Regions from separate parts of the Homo sapiens genome. Here regions 1, 2, 3, 4, 5 and 7 are each linked to region 6. The links are contacts of gene promoters, found by promoter capture Hi-C in human tissues and cell types (Jung and others, 2019). All regions are on one chromosome and are shown on one strand. The core of a region is centred on a gene start or on the middle of the fragment in contact, and the rest is flanking DNA. Distances in the headings are between cores, read along the strand shown.

Region 1 (2,809 bases), core at 267-2,766, 370 kb after region 6:
AGGAGGTCAAGGCTGCAGTGAGCCATGGTTGCAACACTGCACTGCAGCCTGGGCGACAGAGACCCTGACTCCAAAAAAAAAAAAAAAAAAAAAAAAAAGGCACAAAACCCCAATAAATAGAATTTCCTTCTCTGCATAATGCTGCTATGAACATGGTACAAATAGCTGTTTTCATTTCTTTGGGGTATATATCCAGAAGTGGAATTGCTGGATTATGTGGTAATTATGTTTAATTTTTTGAGGAACCACTCTACGGTTTTCCACAGCAGCCACACCATTTTACATTCCCGTCAGCGATGCACAAAGGGTTCCAATTTCTCCGCATCTTTGCCAACACTTATTTTCTTTTTTTCCTCTTCTTCCTCCTTCTCCCCCCTTGAAACTTTTTGTTTTCTTCTCGTTTTTGTAGAGAACAGGGTCTCCTTATGTTGTCCAGTCAAGTCTGCCAACTCCTGGGCTCAGGCTATCCTCCTGTTTCTGCCTCCCTAAGTGCTGGGATTTTAGGCTGAAGCCACTGCGCCCAACTCCCTGCTTCTTCAACTGCCATCCTAATGAATGTTAAGTGGTATCCCACAGTGGTTTTGATTTGCGTTTCCCTAGTGATTAACTATGGGAAGCAGAAGTGAATGAGACAGAATTGTGATCTTGTCAGAAAAATCGTCTTGGAAAAGCCAACGTCCAACAGAAATGGTTAGAACAGGGGTCGCTGGCTTCCATCCAGACAGTATCCCTGACCCTTGTTGGGGCAATGTCACAGAGGCTCCTGCTGAGCAGGGAGGTCTGGATTCCACACTCTTCTGCCACTGCCCAGCTCTGGACCTAAGCTTTCTATGGGTGTCAAGAGGACAAGCAGCCGTGCCCATTTGTCTCGCTGCTTGTTTTTTTGGGTGTCAGATGCGCCAGCAGGAGGGACAGTGTGCGGGAAGGTGCTGGTCTGAGGCTGGTCCTGCCAAAGCCCCGCAGGCTCACTCCCTGGTCGTGCGGAGGTGGCTGGTGCTCGCTGGTCTCCTCAGCACCCGCAGGCCGGGCCCGGGGGCCAGGCAGTTGTCCTCTGTGGAGCCTTATCGGGGCCCACAGGCCCTGCTGCCTTGACCCCACCCGGGCCCCAAAACTCGGCCTGGGGACTGCACAAGGCGGGGCTACGCGGGGCAGGGCCCGTCTGCTGGGGGAGTGCGCTGGGCGGCGGCGGGAGGGCAGGGTCCCTGGGCTCCGACAGCCCCTCCGGCGGAGGTCAATCACAATGAAACCGTGTCCAGCGGACCCGGCAGGGGCTCGCCGCAGTCTACCTGGCCACCGTGAAGCCATGACCTGGCGCCCGAAGCTGCCGGCCGGGGTGTACTCCGCGCGGGACCCTGGGCCTCCGCAGGCCCCGGCGGGGTCGCCCCGAGGCGGGCCTGGCGAGTCCAATCGCCCTGCCCGCAGGGGACCCGCCCCTCATGGGTCCCGCCAATCGCAGGGTACGTTGCTCGGCAGTGCTGCGCGGCTTGGCCTATGGGACGGCGCGTTGTTGGGCTGCAGCGCCGCAGGCCGCACCCAGGTCGGGCGGTGGGGGCGAGCGGAGGGGCTGAGGGGCGGAGAGGCCTGGCGGGCCGCTGCTGCGGGCCAGGGGACGGGGGCGGAGCCGGAGCCGGAGCCGACGGGCGGTGGCCGCACTGGGACCCCGGAATCCCGCGCGCTGCCCACGATTCGCTTCTGAGGTGAGGCTAGCTAGCGGGGGCGGCGGGGGCCCGGTTCGGGCTGAGGCGGCGGCGGGGGCGCGGGGAACTGGGCCGCGGTTGCGGCGGGCGGGGGCCGCGGGGCCTGCGGCGGCCCGGGCAGCCTCGGGGGCGGGGAGGCCGCTGCGGCGCCGAGGGCGTCTTGGAGGGGTCCCCGCGGGGCCTTCGGCCTGGGCCGAGCCGGGGAGCGAGGGCGCCGCAGATCTTTCATCGGGATAGGACCCCGGGGACTAGGCTTTTCCCGGGCCGCTCGTTCCTGGCCGGCTTGTGGGCTGCAGGGGTGGGGGCGGAGGAGGACGACCCTGGCTGGACGCTGGTCAGCATCCTGCTTGTGAGACCGGTTCCGCGGTCCGCAGCGCTGGTGGCTGCAAGGTTTGTGTACGGACGCATCTGTCGGCTCTCGTATTTAAAAACGACGGCTTCTGCCAAAAGAGAAAAGCCATATCTGCCGACGGACGCTCGAGAGATAATCGTGGAACTTTATCAGCGATGGGGCTGTTGGTCACCTTTGCCCTCCCTCTCTTTTCTTTTTTCTTAATCTTTTATTTTCGTTTTTTGGGAGATGTCAGAGGGCCTTTCCCTGTTAGGATGACTTTTATCTTTGCTCTTGTAATGGCTCAAGATAGTTGGGAGGTAATTTGCATTCACTTTATGCATACCCACCTTGAAAAACGTATTTTGGTTCGCCTGAAACTGTTGTTGGTTTGAGCATAATTTATGTTTAGAAAGACAAAAAGCAATTGTCATATCTCCAAAGACCAAAGACATAGCTGATAGCTGTATGCATTACTGGTAAGTTAAAGAAAGATTTTTTGTGTGAAAAATTGACTGAGATCTTAATGGGGATAGGAAATAGAATGCTGATAGGTCGACTGTGTCTATGAGTAGAGGCGCCTAGTGAAAACAAGCTTGGAGTGGATGAGTAGGAGTTCAACAGGCACCAGAGAGAGGAGGGCATTTCAGGCAGAGGGTGTGAATTGTATGAAAGTGAGTTTGTAAACTTTGGAGCCTTGAATGGACAAAGGCCCGCGATGATACCTTTTTTTTTTGAGACGGAGTCTCGCTCTGTCGCCAGGCTGGAGTACAGTGGCGCG
Region 2 (2,908 bases), core at 265-2,764, 410 kb before region 6:
GCCCGGGGCAACTGCTGGAAGGCATTTTGTTCTTTCTTTTCTTTCCTATAGTGTCCGCCTGGCCGCCTCAGCGTCATCTTCATGTTCCTGGAATTTGTGACAAATAATGTACACCAATCAATAGCTTATGCCATTTTAATGCAAATTCTTGGTGAATTTAGGAGCTGCGTCTTCATTTTTCCTTTAAAAACGCACTTGCAACTGCTGCGAATGAGAGCGCGTGCATTCAGACCAACCTGAGTCTGTCCTTCCACGCTGCAGTCCTCAAACTTGGCCCCAACAAACTATTTCTATTCGTTTTGCCTGTTTTCTCCTTTAGGTTGAAAAGCTGACAGCGGGCCCCAGACACTGAGGGGGCGCCTTCCCAGCTTGGCTTCCCCTCCCCCCCACGCCCCCACCCCGTCCCCTGCCCCTCTCCAGGGCCCGTTCTCTGGCGGACGGGGCTGTGGACCAGTTCAGCCGCCCCTCCCCACCCCACCAGGGCGCTGCGGCCTCACTCCCACGTCCACGGGCAGGCCCAGCCCCTCCTGGCCTTCAGGTGACCTCAGCTGCCCGGCTGGCCCCAACTCCACCGCACAACGCAGACTGCGGGTCCCCAGGCCTGGACCCCTGGCCCCGTCCCGCCCGCGCATGTCGGGGAAGCTCTGCTCCGGCAGCCCTCGGGGTGGTGCTGGGAGGTCGCGCAGAACTGAAGGGGGCTAGGTTCGAGAAGCGCCGAGGATGGGGTCTGCGACCGCCTCCCCGCACCTGAGCTTCTCCGCCCCAGCCTGCGGCGTCTGCAGGTCCTACAAGGCGCAGAGCCCCCGCTGCACCTGCACCGAGGCCACGGGGCGCATGCGCGGCCGCGGGGGGCGGGGGCCGGGCCGGGAGGGGTCCTGCGGGCCCCGCATCCCCGTGCCCACTGCGGGGCTCGGACAGGGGGGCGCCGCGCCAGGCCGCAGACCCCGCCCTTCCGCGTCCCCACTCCGGCTGCCCGTGCGGCTCCGGACGAGGCTTCCCGGGGGCTCCGGGCCGGGGCAGCCGCGGCGCCCTCTCCCCAGGTCCACCGCGGGCGCTGCTTTCAAACAAAGGCAGGAGACGGAGCGGGAGACGCTGCCGTGACTGCTCCGGGCGGCCGCGGAGGAGGAGGAGGAGGACGTGGCGCCGCGATCGCCAGCGGTCGGGCCCGGGGTCGGGGCGCTCCCAGGCGCGCGGCGTGGGAGCGGGGGGCGGGGCGGGCGGCGCCCATCACGCGCTCCGCGGCCGGGTCCCGAGCCCCGCCGGACGCCCCCGGGCCAGGAGCCCCCGCCCGCGCCGCCGCCCCCGCCCGTGCCGGGCCCCTCGCGCTGCCCGGCCGCCCCGTCGCGCCCAGCGAGCCACCCGGCGAGGCGGGGGCGGCGTCTCCCCCACCCCCGCGATCACATGGTGACCCCCGGCAGCCAATGCAGTGGACGCTAGGACCCTGCGGGCCGCGGGCGCCGCGACTGCACCGGCGCCGCCGCATTATAAATACTTCTCCAAAATGCGGCGCAGCTCCCTGCGCGCGCCCCGGCCGCCCGCCGCCTCCGCCCCGCGCCCCTGAGCTGCCGCCGCCGCCGCCGCCGCTGCCGCCGCCGCCGCCGCCGCCGCGGGTCCGAGGGCGCCGCGCCCTTGCCCTGGGCCCGGCCGTGCCCGCCGCCGCCCGGCCGCGTCCCCGCTGCCGCGCCGCCCGGCCGGGTGCATGCATTGTGGGCCTCCCGACATGGTCTGCGAGACGAAGATCGTGGCCGCCGAGGACCATGAGGCGCTGCCGGGGGCCAAGAAGGACGCGCTGCTCGCCGCCGCCGGCGCCATGTGGCCCCCGCTGCCCGCCGCGCCCGGGCCGGCCGCCGCGCCCCCCGCGCCCCCACCTGCCCCGGTGGCTCAGCCTCACGGCGGGGCGGGGGGCGCGGGGCCGCCGGGGGGGCGCGGCGTGTGCATCCGCGAGTTCCGTGCGGCCGAGCAGGAGGCGGCGCGCCGCATCTTCTACGACGGCATCATGGAGCGCATCCCTAACACGGCCTTCCGCGGCCTGCGGCAGCACCCGCGCGCGCAGCTGCTCTACGCCCTGCTGGCGGGTCAGTGCGCCGGGCCCCCGGCTGCCGCAGTCCCTCGGGCCGGCGCGGAGCTCCCCCGCCCCGGCGTCCACGCGGACCCCGCGCCCGGCTCCCGGGGACCAGCCTGGGAAGCCCCCCGCTTTCTGCCGCGCCGGGCCCCGCGCAGGGCTGGCTATGGGCGTGGGGATGGGCGCAGGGCCCCGAGCGGGCCGGAGCCGGGGAGGGTCCGGGGTCCGCACCTGCGTCCCCGCCGCGCAGCCCCCCACCCCCACCGCCTCCCCTGTCCCCTCCCGGGCATCCTGGGTGGGGGCGGGTGCCAGGGCAGGTAGCGCCCGCCGCGGCTGGGCCCCGGCGAGTGCCTAAATATAATCTGCGGGCGGGGGAGGCCGCCTCCCGCTCGGTGCTAATTTATGAGGGGAAGACAGCCGGCGCCGCGGGGGGTGCGCGCGCCTGGCACAGCCGGGGCGGTCGCAGAGGGCGGCCCCTTCAGCGTCTTTGGGTGCCCTTCCCCTCAGAGCTTCCTGCCGGGGTGAGGGGGTTCGCTCCCATTTTACAGATGAGGCGCTTGAGGCCGCGTAGGGAGGACGCGACTCCCCCAAGGTCACGGCAGCCGAAATGCGGCTGGAAGCGGTGTGGGGCCTCCCTGCCCTGTCCCTGCCCTCAGAGCTCCCGGACGCTGGCCAGGAAGGGCTCTTGCTGGGGCCCTGGGAAGAGGGGGTCCTGGAGCCCGAGGCTGGAACGTGGGACACCCCCCTTCCTCCTCCCCCCTCCCCCCTCCCCCGCGCGGGGCCTGGTCTGCGGGGCAGCTCCCTGCCAGGATCTGCCCACCTTGGCTTCAGTAGGCCAGCGTGGGC
Region 3 (2,708 bases), core at 142-2,641, 320 kb after region 6:
CCTCCCCAGTTAACCTCTCTGATCCCAAGTGTGTCTCTCCAGCAGGGAGGAGGGCTATTGCAGCCAGGGATCCCCTTTCTGAGGCTTGGGACCCATTATTGGGCAGCTCTGGGACAGGTGGACGGTGACTTGGCCCACACTCGGTCCAGCTGCAACCCTGAGAACCCGCTTGGTTTGGCTGTGTCTCCTGGAGGCCCTCAGGTATTTCAACCTGTAGGACCCAAACCCAGTCCTTCACCTGCTGCAGGGCCAGCCCTGGACACCCCTGCCCCTGCCTGATTTGGAGCAGCCAATTCAGCCCCTGTCATTGGACTCTGGCCTCTTGTGCTCAGTACAGAGGGTCAGACCTTGGCCGCCTGCCTGGACAGGGCCAGGTCACCACCACCCACCCCCAGCTCCCTTGGGTTCCCAGCAAGATCCTGTCCTTCCTCTACTCACAGCTTCCTGGGCTCTGGGACCTGGGGTCCAGTCCCCACTCCTCATGGGGAGGAGTCCCCCCACGCCCCAAGCAGTTGACTCCCGCACTGGTGGGGGGTCCGCTCGCCCTCAAGCTCTGCAGGCCCAGCTTGGTCTCCCCAGCCTCTTCACTTTCTCCACGGCTCCCTCCACCTACCTGGCCCTGAGAGCTCCCCAGGGAAGCCATTTCCTCCCAGGAAGCCCCTCCTCTTCTCGCCCCTGCCCTTACACCAAGGCATCTGGGCCTACTCTTAGGGAGAGGGTGATGGTGGAGGAAAGGGAGCCTCAGAGGAGGCCAAGTGTAAAGCACCCGGTCTCCTGTGCCTCCCAGCCCCAAGACGACCTCTGGGCCACCGGAGTCCAGACCTGGTCCAAGAGGCGAGGTCCCCCTGGGAAGTGCCTGAAAAGTACCCTGGAGGACATTTGGAAACAAAGACAAGGTTTCCTGGTGCCCAGCAAGCCCTCCCCCACCTCCCCTGCTCCTGTCTTGGCCAGGGCCTAAGTCGCACTCACGGGGCAGGGGTGGGGCCGCCCAGGATCAGGACCACGGGGCTGGGGGGGTGGACAGCGCCCTTTCCACCTGGGTCGCTGGGCACTGGGGTGTCACTGGGAGGGACACGCAGGAGGGACAGACACGCTACCTCACTCACGGGCGAGAACTAAGCACCTACTGTGGACCCGGCGTCTAGGCCCGCGACAACGCCAGTCTTCGCCCCCCAGGGGCCTCGTCCCGGGGCCGCGGAGGCCACGTGCAGTTCCCCGCCCACCCTGAGGTACCGGCCCCGCCCCACGCCCAGCTCGGACCTCCAGGATTGCGGGACCCGCCGGGGAGGGGCGGGGCCGGGGCGGGGCCAGGAGGAGGGCGGACTGGGCGGGCGCGGGCGGGACGGAGCTGCGGCGGCGGCGGGTCCCGCGGGCGGGAGCGCCTGGCGGCCGAGTCAAGCCGCCGCCTCGACCCAGGGCCCGCGGGCCAGGAGAGCGCTCGGCGGGTAAGCCTCGGCGGCGGGTCTCGGCGGGTCTCGGGGGTCTCGCGGGGGGGCGGTCTCCGCGTCTGGAAGGGGCTCGGCGGGCCTTGGCGGTCTGGGGGCTCTCGGCGGGTCTCGGGGGTCTCGGGGGAGTCTCGGGGTCCCGACAGGTCTCGGCGGGTCTCGGGGGTCTCGGGGGAGTCTCCGGGGAGTCTCAGGGGTCCCGGCAGGTCTTGGCAGGTCTCGGGGGAGTCTCAGGGTCCCGGCAGGTATGGGCGGGTGTCGGGGGTCTCGGGTGCGCAGCAGCCTCCCCCGGGCCCCGGGGCCTCCGTGTCCTTGCCAAAGGACGCACGGGGCCTGGGCACGGCGGGCAGTGCCCGAGGGAGCGCGGCTTCGGGGCGGGGGCCGGGTGTCCCTTGCCGGGGGCTCAGGGGTGGGAGGCGGTGCGACGCGTCTGTTTCGCACCCCTCGCGCCCCTCTGGCCCCGCGGCGGGGCCCCTTTACGCGACCCTCCCCACAAGACTCAAAGGCTGCGGCGGGCACTCGCTCTCCGCCCTTCCCGGAATCCAAACTTCCCTCTGCAGCGGCCGCGCTTCACGGAGGGCAAGAAAAGCCGCCCACTGGCGCTGATTCACACTGAAGTGTGAGTGACTGATAGCCGGGCGTCTGAGACTCTCATGGGCAACAGGGAATCTCAGGGGTGGCAGAGGGACTGGAGGAGTTAGGGGGCGGGGACAGCCCCTTCCACCTGTACGCTGGCCTCCCTGCAGCCCAGCACTTTCCCGCTGCTCTGGGCCTCGGCTCCCTGGGGGTATTGAGGGCCTGAGCCCTGCTGTGGGGAGCCTTCTGCTGGTGCTCCTTTCCGTGAGCACCTCCTATCCCCTCTCTGTGCCTCAGTTTGCTCATCTGTTGACACTGGGGACAGCTGTGCCTCCTGGTCTAGTGGCCACACTTAAGTCCTTCGAATTGGCTGTGGCCAGGGGCGGGTACTCCGTGTGGGCTGCTGGGGTGGACAGCCTGCCTGGATGACATGTGTGTGGCCTTGCAGGTGACATGGGCCGGTGATGCAATGTGTAGAATTGTTTCCACAACCGCCTGAAGGCAGGGCCCACAGCCTCCTCCTTGCCGAAGCAAGCCTCTGGGTTCAGGTCAGCCCTGCACCAACTCCATGAGCCTGGACAAGCTCCTGCCCTCACTGGCTCAGGCCCTGTGGGACCAGAGGAGGGGCTGGGCTCCACCCCCTCCTGGTTCTTCCCACTCTGTCCACTGTCTCCTCTACGTAGACAC
Region 4 (2,959 bases), core at 330-2,829, 390 kb after region 6:
CTTAGCCTCTTTTTATCTTTGCTTATTAACCAAAATGTAACTGAACTGTCTCAATGCTTAAAGAAAGGAGATGATAAACAGACAGCCTTATTCCCCTCTCCCATTCCCAAACAAAAGCCAGTTCTTACCTGGAGTTTTGGCTCTAGCTTTCTCTCTGCCTGGAGTGCCTTTCTGGATATATGGCCACCTGGCCTAGTGCTCTCACCACCTGTTTGTCTGTGAGTCCTTCCTTAGCTGTCCCCTTCTCTGGGAGCTTTCCTTTGCTCTTCCTACTTAATGATGTGACTCACCTCCCCACCCCCTGGACTCCCAGTTCCCTACCCATAGCACTTGTCGCCTTCTAACAGACTGTGTGATTTACTTATTTATCATGTTTATTGCCTGGCTTCCCTGCAGGAATGTAAGAAATCTTTGTTTTGTTCATTGATGTCCCCTGAGAATGTGGATTGCTGAGCAATGCCTGGTCTATAGCAGCCTCACAGTTAGTGCTTGGTAGATATTTGGTGACTGAGTGCTGACTCCATGAAAATGATTGTCATCCTTTGACTCTGCTCCAGTTGCATTTGAAAAGTTGCATGGGATCTGCCACTTCTCTCCATGACCCAACTATAGAGACTTCTGGAGTGTGGCTTCTCCCCTCTACCTCAGTACTGTCATGCCTATTGAATTTTTTTGAGACAGAGCTTCACTCTGTCACCCAGGCTAGAGTGCAGTGGGATGGTCATGGCCCACTACAGCCTCTACTAGGCTCAAGTGATCCTCTCACCTCAGACTCCTAAGTAGCTGGGACTACAGGTGCATGCCACCACGCCCAGCTAATTTTTAATTTTTTTTTTTTTTTTTTTTGGTAGAGCTAGGGTTCTGCCATATTGCCCAGGCTAGTCTCAAACTCTGGGCTGAAGCAATCTGCCCACCTCTGCCTCCCAAGGTGCTGGGATTACAGTTGTGAGCCACTGTACAAGGCTTTACTTGGAATTTTTAGACTTCAGAAATTATTTGAATGTTAATATAGGAAAGTGGTAGTAATAATTAGAAGCAAATTATATATATGAGAAACAGTATTTAATGTATTTTGGAGACCAAGTGTTATGACAGGGATCAGAAATTTTCAGTTGTCACTGACAGTAAAAATCATTGCAAGAAGCAATTTGGTGCTGTGGAAAGTTCATAGGCTTGGAAGCCAGGATACTTGGTTCTTAGGTTTGTCCAGTAATCTTAGCCACCCTACAGTGAGTGTCTGCTGTCTGCCAAACACTCTAAATGCTTTCCAGACAGCATTTTTGATTTTACTGTATCACTCATGGTTGCCATTACTACACCTTGTTTTTTTTTGTTTTGTTTTGTTGTTTTGTTTTCTAAGAGATAGGGTCTCACTGTGTTGCCCAGGCTGGTCTCAAACTCCTGGGCTGAAGAGATCCTCCTGCCTCAGCCTCCCAAGTAGCTGTGAGTACAGTCATGAGCCACTGTGCCTGGCTACTATACCCTGTTTATAGATGGAAAAACTGAGTCCCAGAGAAAAGATAAGAAAGAAAAGATTCTATTCTGATATGAACAGAATCATTTTGGAGTGGAGACCATGTGGGGCACATTTAACCCCTATACACTGTCAACTAGAGAGTTTGGTTAACTTACTGTCTCTACCTTAGGGTAAGACACAATCTCCGAGGACCTACATTTTATGACCTGTGAGATCAGGATAAGGCTATCCTGCTAAAACACTTAAATAACAGAATTTATGGCCGGGCGTGGTGGCTCACGCCTTTAATCCTAGCACTTTGGGAGGCCGAGGTGGGCAGATTTCCTGAGTTCAGGAGTTCGAGAACAGCCTGGGCGATACGGTGAAACCCCATCTCTACTAAAATACAAAAAATTAGCTGGGCGTGGTGGCGTGTGCCCGTAGTCCCAGCTGTTCGGGAGGCTGAGGCAGGAGAATTGCTTGAACCCGGGAGGCGGAGGTTGCAGTGAGCCAAGATCGTGCGTGCCATTGCTCCACCCTGGGTGACAGAGCGAGACTCCGCCTCAAAAAACAAAACAAAACAAAACAAAAAACAGGATTTATATTGTAAAATATAAAACTTTAAACAAATGTTTTGTATCATTATGCTGCTGAAAATACAATGTTCCAACAGTGTCCTCTGTTCATTTTATACTCACAGTGATGCTTATTATTTTATTTATTAGAATGTATCTGAGATGCCAAGTTCAGGAGATTTTTGGAGTCCTGCTCTGTGTGCCCTTCTGCCAGGTGGCCCTATGCTTATAATCACTCTTAGGTGTTTACACTTCCTTCCTTTTTCTTGTCAGGGTCCCTGGCTCCCTCTGGAGTCTACTCTCCAGGAGGTGGGGGGCGCTGATGTCAGCAGGGAAGGGGGGCTTATTGCTCTCAGTGATGCTTATTATTTTATTCACGTTCTTAATGGTTTGAGTTTTTGGTTTTTTAAGAGATGGGGTCTTGCTTTGTTGCCTGGCTGGATTTGAACTCCTGGACCCCATTGTGCCTCACTTGTTTTATTTTTCAAATTTTATTATTTTGTAAATTTCCCTTTTATAAATTAATCTTTAAAAATGTGTGTGTGTATATCTATGAACAAATAAAGGATCTCCTGGTCATCTCTGTCCCCATCCACCCAGCTCCCTGTTCCTCCTTACAAGTAAATCACCATTGTAAGTTGTATATTCTTCCTGCATTTCTTTATGCAAATAGAAGGAAATGTGAATGTTTTTCTTATTCTCTTCCTTCTCCCCACAAAAGATGCCATACATACACTATTTTCTCTTGTTTTTTTTTTCCTGCCTGACAGTATTTCCTTGTTTTTGTGAAGACTAGACCATCTAAAATTTTGTGTACTCATAATTACTTGATAGCATAAAGACTTTCAAGTCTCCATCAGCTGACACAATTAATTTTCAATGAACATACCTTTGGCAAGTCTTCTTAGGCTTATTTTTGTGATTTTTA
Region 5 (2,700 bases), core at 2-2,501, 350 kb before region 6:
GCTCAATGAGATACCACTTCACACTCACCAGGATGGCTAGAATCAAAAAGACAGGTAATACAAAGTATTGGTGAGAATGCAGAGAAACTTGAACCCCACACACCTGTGGGAATGTAAAATGGTGCAGCATTTTTGGAAAATTGTTTAGCAGGTCATGGAAAAGTTAAATATGGGTACCACTGAACTGCACATTTTAAATGATTAAGATGGTAAATTTTATGGGATGGGTATTTTACCACAATGAAAAAAAGTTAAACATAGAATTATTTTATGACCCAGCATGTCTACTCCTAGGTATACACTCAGGAGAAATTTAAATGTATGTCTGCACAAAAACTTGCACACAGACCAGGGGCGGTAGCTCACACCTGTAATCCCAGCACTTTGGGAGGCCAAGGAGGGAGGATTGCTTGAGCCCAGGAGTTTGAGGCCAGCCTAGGCAACATAGGAAGACAGAGCCTCTACCAAAAAGAAAAAAAAAAATCTAGCCAGGCATGCTGGCATGTGCCTGTGGTCTCAGGTACTCAGGAGGCTGAGGCAGGAGGATTGCTTGAGTCCAGCAAGCGGTTGAGGCTGCAGTGAGCTGTGAGTGGGAGTGAGCCACTGCATTCCCACTAAGGGTAACAGATCAAGATCTTATCTCAGAAACCAAACCAAACCAAACCAAACCAAACCAAACCTCAGCTGGGCGTGGTGGTTCACACCTGTAATCTCAGCACTTTGGGAGGCTGAGGCAGGTAGGTTGCTTTGTAATCAGGAATTTGAGACCAGCCTGGCCAACATGGCGAAACCTCATCTCTACTAAGAATACAAAAATTAGGCTGGGTGCAGTGGCTCACACCTGTAATCCCAGCACTTTGGGAGGCCGAGGCAGGTGGATCATTTGAGGTCAGGAGTTCAAGACCAGCCTGGCCAACATAGTGGAACCCTCTCACTACTAAAATTACAAAAATTAGCTGGGTGGTAGTGGCGCATACCTGTAATCCCAGCTACTCGGGAGGCTGAGGCAGGAATCGCTTGATCCTGGGAGACGGAGGTTGAAGTGAGCCAAGATTGCACCACTGCTCTCCAGTCTGGGCGACAGGGTGAGACCCTGTCTCAAAAAAAAAAAAAAAAAAAAAGAAAAAAAAATTCAGCCAGGCATGGTGGCATGTACCTGTGGTCCCAGCTACTTGGGAGGTAAGGCTGGAGAATCACTCAAACCTGGGAGGCAGAGGTTGCAGTGAGCCAAGATCGTGCCTCTGCTCTCCAGCCTAGGGGACAGAGTGTAACCTTGTCTCAAAAAAAAACCAAAACCGAAGCCAAAACCAAAACCAAACCTGTATACAAATGTGCATAATGCATTGTTCATAATTGACAAAAAGTGGAAACAACCCAAATGTCCATCAAAGGACATTTGATGAATAGATAAATACACGGATTATTTGCTTATTTATATTGAAATATATAGAATATATTATTCCATATAATAGAGTATTTTTCAGCCTTAAAAAGGAATGAAGTACTGTTAGCTCCTACAGCATGGATAAACCTTGAAAATACTATGTTCAGCAAAAGAAGCCAGATACAAAAGGTTCCATGTTGTACAATTTCATTAATGTGAAGTGTCCAGAATAGGTAAATCTAGAGACAGAAAGTAGATGAGTGGTTTCCAGGGCCGGGAGGCGGGGTGAATTGGGAGTGGTGGTTAATGGGCATGAGTTTTCTTTTTGGGGTGATCGAAATGTTCTGGAATTAGATAGTCGTGATTGTAACTTTATTTTTTGAGAGACAGGTTCTTGCTCTGTCGAGGCGGAGTGCAGTGGTGTAATCATAGCTCACTGCAGCCTCAACCTGGGCTCAAGCAATCCTCTCTCCTTAGCCTCCCAAGCAGCCAGGACTACAGGATAGGCGTGTGCCACCTCATCCGGCTAATTTAAAAAAAAATTTTTTTTGTAGAGATGGGAGTCTTGCCATGTTGCCCAGGCTGGTCTCAAACTCCTGGCCTCAAGTGATCCTCTCCTCTTTGCCTCCCCAAATACTGGGATTATGGGCATGCGCCACTGTGCCAGGCCAATTGTAACATTAAAAAGGTGAATTTTATGGTCTGTGAATTATATCTTGATTTTAAAAGATGGTGAGAGCTTAGGAGAAGGATGTTTTCCCAGGAGCGGGGGCACAGAGACCAGGAGAAAGCACCGGGACAGGCAGGGCCCAGGGATGCTGCACACCCACAAAGACCCTGTGGAGGCTTTGACTTGTCCCTTGCTGGGGGTGGGGTCCTCGTTGCTGTTGCTGGCCCTGGACCTCGGAGCCAGGCACATCCTGGAGGCGATCATTGTCTTAGATGTGAGGAGCTCCAGGCTTCAAATACAAATAAACGCCTATGTAGGTAAAATGAAAGTTTGTTTTAAGAAGCAAGAAAGAGCTGGCAGTGAGAAAGTAAAGGGAGTAAGTATAGATTTCTTTTGTACCTAAGCAATAAATGAGGTCTTCAACCAGGTTGAAGATAGGATTTCTTTCTAGGGTTATATTTAGGGCAATCCTAAAGCAGGTTTTTTGTCCCCCAGTAGAGGGGAACGAGGAAATCAACAAAGGATATGTTAACAATGCTAGAGTAAAAATGGAAAATAAAAGGAACATGGATGAAGGCTGCCATGTAAGGCTGGGCTGGTTGTGCACTGCACAGCTGTAGGAGGAGCCAGGCACACAGGTCTAGAC
Region 6 (2,853 bases), core at 52-2,551:
GTTTGTAAATGCAACACAAAAACGTTAATGCTCTGGTTTCTATCTGCCTTGTCATTCCGTTATTTGACTCCATTTTCGAGGTTAGAAACTCACTGTAAGGTGGCCGGGCGAGGTGGCTCACACCAGTAATCCCAGCACTTTTGGAGGCCAAGGAGGGTGGATCACCTGAGGTCAGGAGCTCGAGACCAGCCTGGCCAACATGATGGAACTCCATCTCTACTAAAAATACAAAGAAAATTAGCCGGGCGTGGTGGCAGGCGCCTGTAATCCCAGCTATTCGGGAGGCTGAGGCAGGAGAATCACGTGAACCCAGGAGGTTAGAGCTTGCAGTGAGCCGAGATCGCGCCACTAAAACAAACAAACTCACTGTAAGGAAACAATGTAACCCAAGGCATTTGGGGTGACCTTCACGTTGCCTGAGGGTGCCGAGGGACCAGAGATGCTGGCCATGGACTAAGGTCTGGGTATTCTCAGGCAGCAGGGACAAGGTGGGCTTTTTTCCTGGTTGCTAAACCCACGTCAAAGTCGAGCTCAGGGACTGGAGCTCAAGAAACCCACCGCCCATTCTCCAGTCCGACCGGGGACCTGCATGCACCTCTGCCGTGCTGCCCTGAGTCCTCCAATCCTCCACACTCTTCCTCTGTTATGTACACGTCTCCACCCAGGCCTGCAAAAGTCCCAGCTTCCTCGCAGGGGCAGGGACCCGCACGCCGGCCCAGGGCTTGGCACGCGGGGATGCTGAAACAGGGCCAGGCCTGGTTTCCAGCCGATCGTCAGAGTCCCAAGGCCCAGCAACCTTCCTCACAAAGGCCTCGTTAAGAGGCGAGGAAACAAGAGCCGGGAGAGGGGCGCGGAACGGCGGGCGGGACGAACGACCAGCTCCGCGCCTCCGGCCAGCTGCGTCGAGCCAGGGGCACCGCGGCTGTTGTGCGGCTGGAAATCTAGGAATGGGAAGGTTCGGGGCCTGCTCGGCTCCGGAGGCAGCTGGCGGGTCGTCCCTGGCGGCGTTGGAGCGGTCAGTGGCAGCCGGGCACGGGCGACCGGGTCGCCCGGGTCGCCCTCAGACCGTGACTCCCGAAAAACCTTGCGGGCGGGGCGCGCCCGCGCCGTCTCTTGCCGGAAGGTGCGAGTTAGTGCGCTCGATTGTGGGCGGGGGCGGAAAGAGGCGCGTTTTAAAGTGGTAACAGATGGTTTTCTTATCCAATAGGATTAAAAAATTTGTCCTTACCCGGCCGACCGCGGAAGTAGAGTAGGCGGGCGGCCAATGGGGACATGATGGGGGGCGGAGCCGAGGCCTCCGAAGCGGAAGTGGGTTGCTGTTGAGGCGGCGGCATCTTTCTCGAGGAGCTCTCCTGGGCGGCTGAAGAAGGAGCTTCTTCTCCGGAGTGCGCCGGCGGTGGCGCCTGCGGACCTAACTAGCTCCAGGTTAGGCCGAGCTTTGCGGGAAAGCAGCGGTAAGTCAGGGCCTTGCAGATGCGAGGTTTAGGCAGCTTCGCGGCCTACAGAGGCCTCGGCCCGCGCCTCTTGGGGGAGCCGCGCTGCGCGGCTTGACCCAGCCGAGGCTTTGCAGCCCGGGACCTCGAGCCAGCTCTGGTCGCTCGCACTGCCGTCCGCGCGGGCGCACCGAGCCCGGCTTGGCGCGGGCAACAGAAGTTAGGAGGTCTGCGTCTGGGTCTCGGCTCACCCTGGGGGGCCGCGGCCATGGGGCTTAGTTCCTAGCCTAGGAAGGGAAACTGAGACTCTGGGAGGGGCAGGAACGCCCCCAAGGTCACTTGGAAAGTCGGGCAGGATGTGCTGTTAGGGGGAAGACCCGGGCAGGGTTTTTGTTCCCCGCTGACGACGCCTCCTTTGTGTGTTCGCGCCGCCGCCCCGCCATCGTGGGGCCTGCGAGTTTGCCGGGGTGCGTGGGCCGCGTGGCGGGGCCTTTTGTAGGTCGGGAGGATCTGAGTACGGGTGCGGGCCTGACCGTGGGGGCGCCGAGGTCGCAGTCTAAAACTTAGTAGGGCCTCGATTTCCGGGCGCGCTTCCGGGCCCCGGCTGGTGGTTGGTGGAACGTGCGACTGTGAGGCTTGCGGCCCAGCCCTGCACCGCTCGGGCCCTTCACCGCTCTGGCGCGCCTATAGACAGGTGTATGAAGATTCTCACGACCCGAAACAGAGTTGCTAGTAAACACCGCTTTTCCGCCTTTGATCCATCGAGGGAAGAGGGAAAAGGATAGAGCTTGGGCAAGCCGTTTTGGTAGGGATTTCAGCTTTTGTCTTTCACTTGTCAGTTCCCATAGACGTTCACAAACTTAATAATCTTCGTTCTGTTTCTGCACCAAGTTCTTGAGCCAGACGTAGGGTCTCAGCTCTGGAGCCTGGCTTAGACTGTCCAACTGACTGGGGAGACTGAGGTCCAGAAAAGTGAAGTGGTCTGCCCAAGGTCACATAGCCAGCTATTTGGCAGCAGATGAGGTTAAGTCCTACCTGCAAGATTTGGGTTTTGAATTCATTGACCAGGAGTTTTGGGACCACTGTCAATAAAAGAGACATTGAAGGGAATCTTTTGTTACTTTCTTGGTGATTTGCTTTTTAATGGACAAGGACATATTGGGTTCAGTTTTATCTGTGAGTTTGAGGTGAAATAGAGGCATTCGAGTAGCAAGATATATTGCTGGCTTTTGTATTGCCTGAATTTGAGCTTCCAAAAATCTTACTTTAACACATCGTTTATTGATCTTTTCTTGAATTACTACCTTTGTAAGGACCTTTTGTAAACATTGTTTTTCTAATCTTCATGAAATCTTAATGCCATACGTAAACTATTTCTTTTTATATAATGTATGCACATCTGTGCTTTGTACATAAAATG
Region 7 (2,700 bases), core at 177-2,676, 440 kb before region 6:
CAAAAAATTATCCGGCCGTGGTGGCATGTGCCTATAATCTCAGCTACTTGAGAGGCTTGTAGTGAGCTGAGATTGCGCCACTGCACTCCAGCCAGGCGACAGAGCAAGACTCCGTCTCAAAAAAAAAAAAAAAAAGAATGTTGAATATTGGCCCCCAATCTCTTCTGGCTTGTAGGGTTTCCACTGAGATGTCCACTGTTAGTCTGATGGGCTTCCCTTTGTAGGTGACCTGGCCTTTCTCTCTGGCTGCCCTTAACATTTTTTACTTCATTTTAACCTTAGAGAATCTGATGATTATGTGCCTTAGGGTTGACCTTCTCATGGAGTATCTTATTGGAGTTCTCTGGATTTCCTGGATTTGAACGTTGGCCTGTCCTGCTAAGTTGGGGAAGTTCTCCTGGAGGATAACCTGAAGTGTGTTTTCCAACTTGGCTCCATTCTCCCCGTCTCTTTCAGGTACTCCAATCAGTTGTAGGTTCAATCTTTTTACATAGTCCAATAGTTCTCGGAGGTTTTGTTCATTCCTTTTCATTATTTTTTCTCTAATCTTGTCTGCCTGCCTTATTTCAGCAAGACAGTCTTCAAGCTCTGATATTCTTTCTTCTGTTTGGTTGATTTGGCTGTTGATACTTGTGTTTGCATCATGAAGTTCTTGTGCTGTATTTTTCAGCTCCGTCGGGTCATTTATGTTTCTCTCTAAACTGGTTATTCCAGTTAACACCATCTGTAATGTTTTATCGTGGTTCTTAGCTTCTTTGCATTGGGTTAAAACATAATCCTTTAGCTCAGTGAAGTATATTATTACCCACTTTCTGAAGCGTACTTCTGTCAGTTCATCCATCTCAGCTTCAGCCCACTCCTGTGCCCTTGCCGGAGAGGTGTTTTGATCATTTGAAGGAGAAGAGGCATTCTGGCTTTTGGAATTTTCAGCATTTTTGCGTTGGTTTTTCCTCATTGTGGATTTATCTACCTTTCCTCTTTGAGGCTGTTGACCTTTAGATGGGGTTTTTGTGGGGTCTTTTTTGTTGATGTTGTTGTTGTTGCTTTCTGTTTGTTTTTCTTTTATTTTCTTTTTTTTCGTTTTTTTTGAGATGGAGTCTCGCTCTGTCACCCAGGCTGGAGTGCAGTGGCGCGATCTTGGCTCCCTCACTGCAACATCCACCTTCCAGGTTCAAGCGATTCTCCTGCAGCCTCCCAAGTAGCTGGAACTACAGGCGCCCACCACCACGCCTGGCTAATTTTTGTATTTTTAGTAGAGACAGGGTTTCACCATATTGGCCAGGCTGGTCTCGAACTCCTGACCTTGTGATCCACCCTCCTCAGCCTCCCAAAGTGCTGGGATTACAGGCGTGAGCCACTGCGCCTGGCTGTTTTTCTTTTAACAGTCAGGCCCCTCTTCTGCAGGTCGGCTGCAATTTGCTGGAGGTCCACTCCATACCCTGTTTGCCTGGGTATCACCAGTGAAGGCTGCAGAACAGCAAAGATTGCTGCCTGCTCCTTCCTCTGGAAGCTTTGTCTCAGAGGGGCACCGACCTGATGCCAGCTGCAGCTCTCCTGAATGAAGTGTCTGGTGGCCCCTGTTGGGAGGTCTCACCCAGTCAGGAGGCATGTGATCAGGGACCTGCTTAAGGAAGCAGTCTGGCTGCCCCTTACCAGTGTGGGTGCACTGCGCTGGGGGGAATGCCCCCTCATCCAGGTCACTGGGACTCTTGGGAGCCAGCAAGCAGGAAAGATTAAGTCTGTCCAACCTGAGACTGCGGCCACCACTCTCCCCAGGTGCTCTGACCTGGGGAGATGAAAGTTCTGTCCGTAAACCCCTGGCTGGAGTTGCTGGAACTCCTGCAGGGAGGCACTGCTCGGGTGAGAAGGGATGGGTCTGGTTCCCAGTTAAAGAGGCAGTCTGGCCACAATCTGCCACAGCTGCTGTGCTGCGCTGTGGGGAATTCTGCCCAGTCCAAACCTCACAATCTCCCTAGCACTGGCCAGGGAAAACTGCCTCCCAGGTTCAAATGACTCTCCTCCCTCAGCCTCTCGAGTATCCAGGATTACAGGCATGCATCACCACACCTGGCTAATTTTTTTTTCTATTTTTAGTAGAGATAGGGTTTTACTGTGTTAGCTAGGCTGGTCTCGAACTCCTGAACTCATGATCCACCCACCTCAGCCTCCCAAAGTGCTGGGATTACAAGTGTGAGCCACCACGCCTGGCCTTGTAAGCCCATCTGTTCTGCCCATTTACTTTCCTCAGGAGTACAGTAGGGTGCTGCTGGCATGGGTGCAGTACCTGGCATTAGTCCGTGGCCTGGAGCACTGGTGTTCTTCACCTGTGGCCTTGGCTGTCCTGTCCATCAGGGCATTTCCTCCGGGATGATAGAGGTGTCCCCCTTTTGGTGTCCCCTGCAGTGAGTAACTGCCACCTCCTTTGGGAGCTGGACAGCATCTACAATTCCAAGATCTCAGAGCAATGCTGTGTGGGGGATTCCTTAGCTGTTAGCGCTCCCTTTTCTTTCCATATGGCGTCATGAGCGTGGAGCACCAGGCACCCATATTTGGAATCGGTAAATATGTTGACTCTTAAGTCTTTTCTCAGTTGGAGGACCCTGATTAGACCAATTAATTCCACTTTTTGAGCAGATGTCTGGGGAGGTCAAGCTTTGGCCTCAATGCCTTCTTCTCGGCTAACTACTGCATAACCGATCT

The links. The method cuts DNA at HindIII sites, captures the fragments that hold promoters and counts their contacts. A contact is called where the count stands out against the background at its distance.
Region 1: the fragment with the promoter of ADD1 here is called in contact with the fragment with the promoter of RNF4 in region 6 in 1 of the 25 tissues and cell types used here (dorsolateral prefrontal cortex).
Region 2: the fragment with the promoter of NAT8L here is called in contact with the fragment with the promoter of RNF4 in region 6 in 1 of the 25 tissues and cell types used here (mesendoderm cells).
Region 3: a contact is called between the fragment with the promoter of SH3BP2 here and the fragment with the promoter of RNF4 in region 6, in 1 of the 25 tissues and cell types used here (lymphoblastoid cells).
Region 4: a contact is called between a fragment that was not itself captured here and the fragment with the promoter of RNF4 in region 6, in 1 of the 25 tissues and cell types used here (dorsolateral prefrontal cortex).
Region 5: a fragment that was not itself captured here is called in contact with the fragment with the promoter of RNF4 in region 6 in 1 of the 25 tissues and cell types used here (dorsolateral prefrontal cortex).
Region 7: a contact is called between a fragment that was not itself captured here and the fragment with the promoter of RNF4 in region 6, in 4 of the 25 tissues and cell types used here (IMR-90 fibroblasts, aorta, dorsolateral prefrontal cortex and 1 more).

What each region holds. Positions count from the first base shown.
Region 1 is chr4:2,842,328-2,845,136 of GRCh38, forward strand. ADD1 (adducin 1) reads left to right here and starts at 1,517. Exons shown (of 16, transcript NM_001354761.2): 1 at 1,517-1,697. RefSeq lists an enhancer at 289-800 and silencers at 929-978, 1,079-1,458, 1,519-1,708, 1,829-1,978. The HindIII fragment of the contact is 4,953 bases long and covers 197-2,809 here.
Region 2 is chr4:2,057,813-2,060,720 of GRCh38, forward strand. NAT8L (N-acetyltransferase 8 like) reads left to right here and starts at 1,515. Exons shown (of 3, transcript NM_178557.4): 1 at 1,515-2,075. The coding sequence starts at 1,700. The HindIII fragment of the contact is 12,290 bases long and covers 1-2,908 here.
Region 3 is chr4:2,791,694-2,794,401 of GRCh38, forward strand. It overlaps SH3BP2 (SH3 domain binding protein 2), which reads left to right and starts at 1,392. Exons shown (of 13, transcript NM_001122681.2): 1 at 1,392-1,445. RefSeq lists a silencer at 1,110-1,459. The HindIII fragment of the contact is 44,064 bases long and covers 1-2,708 here.
Region 4 is chr4:2,862,394-2,865,352 of GRCh38, forward strand. The region is part of intron 1 of ADD1 (adducin 1); the gene reads left to right. Among named protein-coding and RNA genes, the nearest start is that of ADD1, 20 kb to the left of the region's middle. RefSeq lists enhancers at 1-469, 470-1,181. The HindIII fragment of the contact is 4,367 bases long and covers 1-2,959 here.
Region 5 is chr4:2,122,525-2,125,224 of GRCh38, forward strand. All of the region lies in intron 19 of POLN (DNA polymerase nu), which reads right to left. Among named protein-coding and RNA genes, the nearest start is that of NAT8L, 65 kb to the left of the region's middle. The HindIII fragment of the contact is 8,083 bases long and covers 1-2,700 here.
Region 6 is chr4:2,467,805-2,470,657 of GRCh38, forward strand. RNF4 (ring finger protein 4) reads left to right here and starts at 1,302. Exons shown (of 8, transcript NM_002938.5): 1 at 1,302-1,454. LOC107986250 (a long non-coding RNA gene) reads right to left here and starts at 1,147. Exons shown (of 2, transcript XR_001741551.3): 1 at 596-1,147. RefSeq lists a silencer at 845-1,014 and enhancers at 1,165-1,524, 1,208-1,780, 1,825-1,944. The HindIII fragment of the contact is 20,287 bases long and covers 1-2,853 here.
Region 7 is chr4:2,032,083-2,034,782 of GRCh38, forward strand. The region is part of intron 1 of LOC124900839; the gene reads right to left. Among named protein-coding and RNA genes, the nearest start is that of NICOL1, 8.6 kb to the right of the region's middle. The HindIII fragment of the contact is 6,531 bases long and covers 1-2,700 here.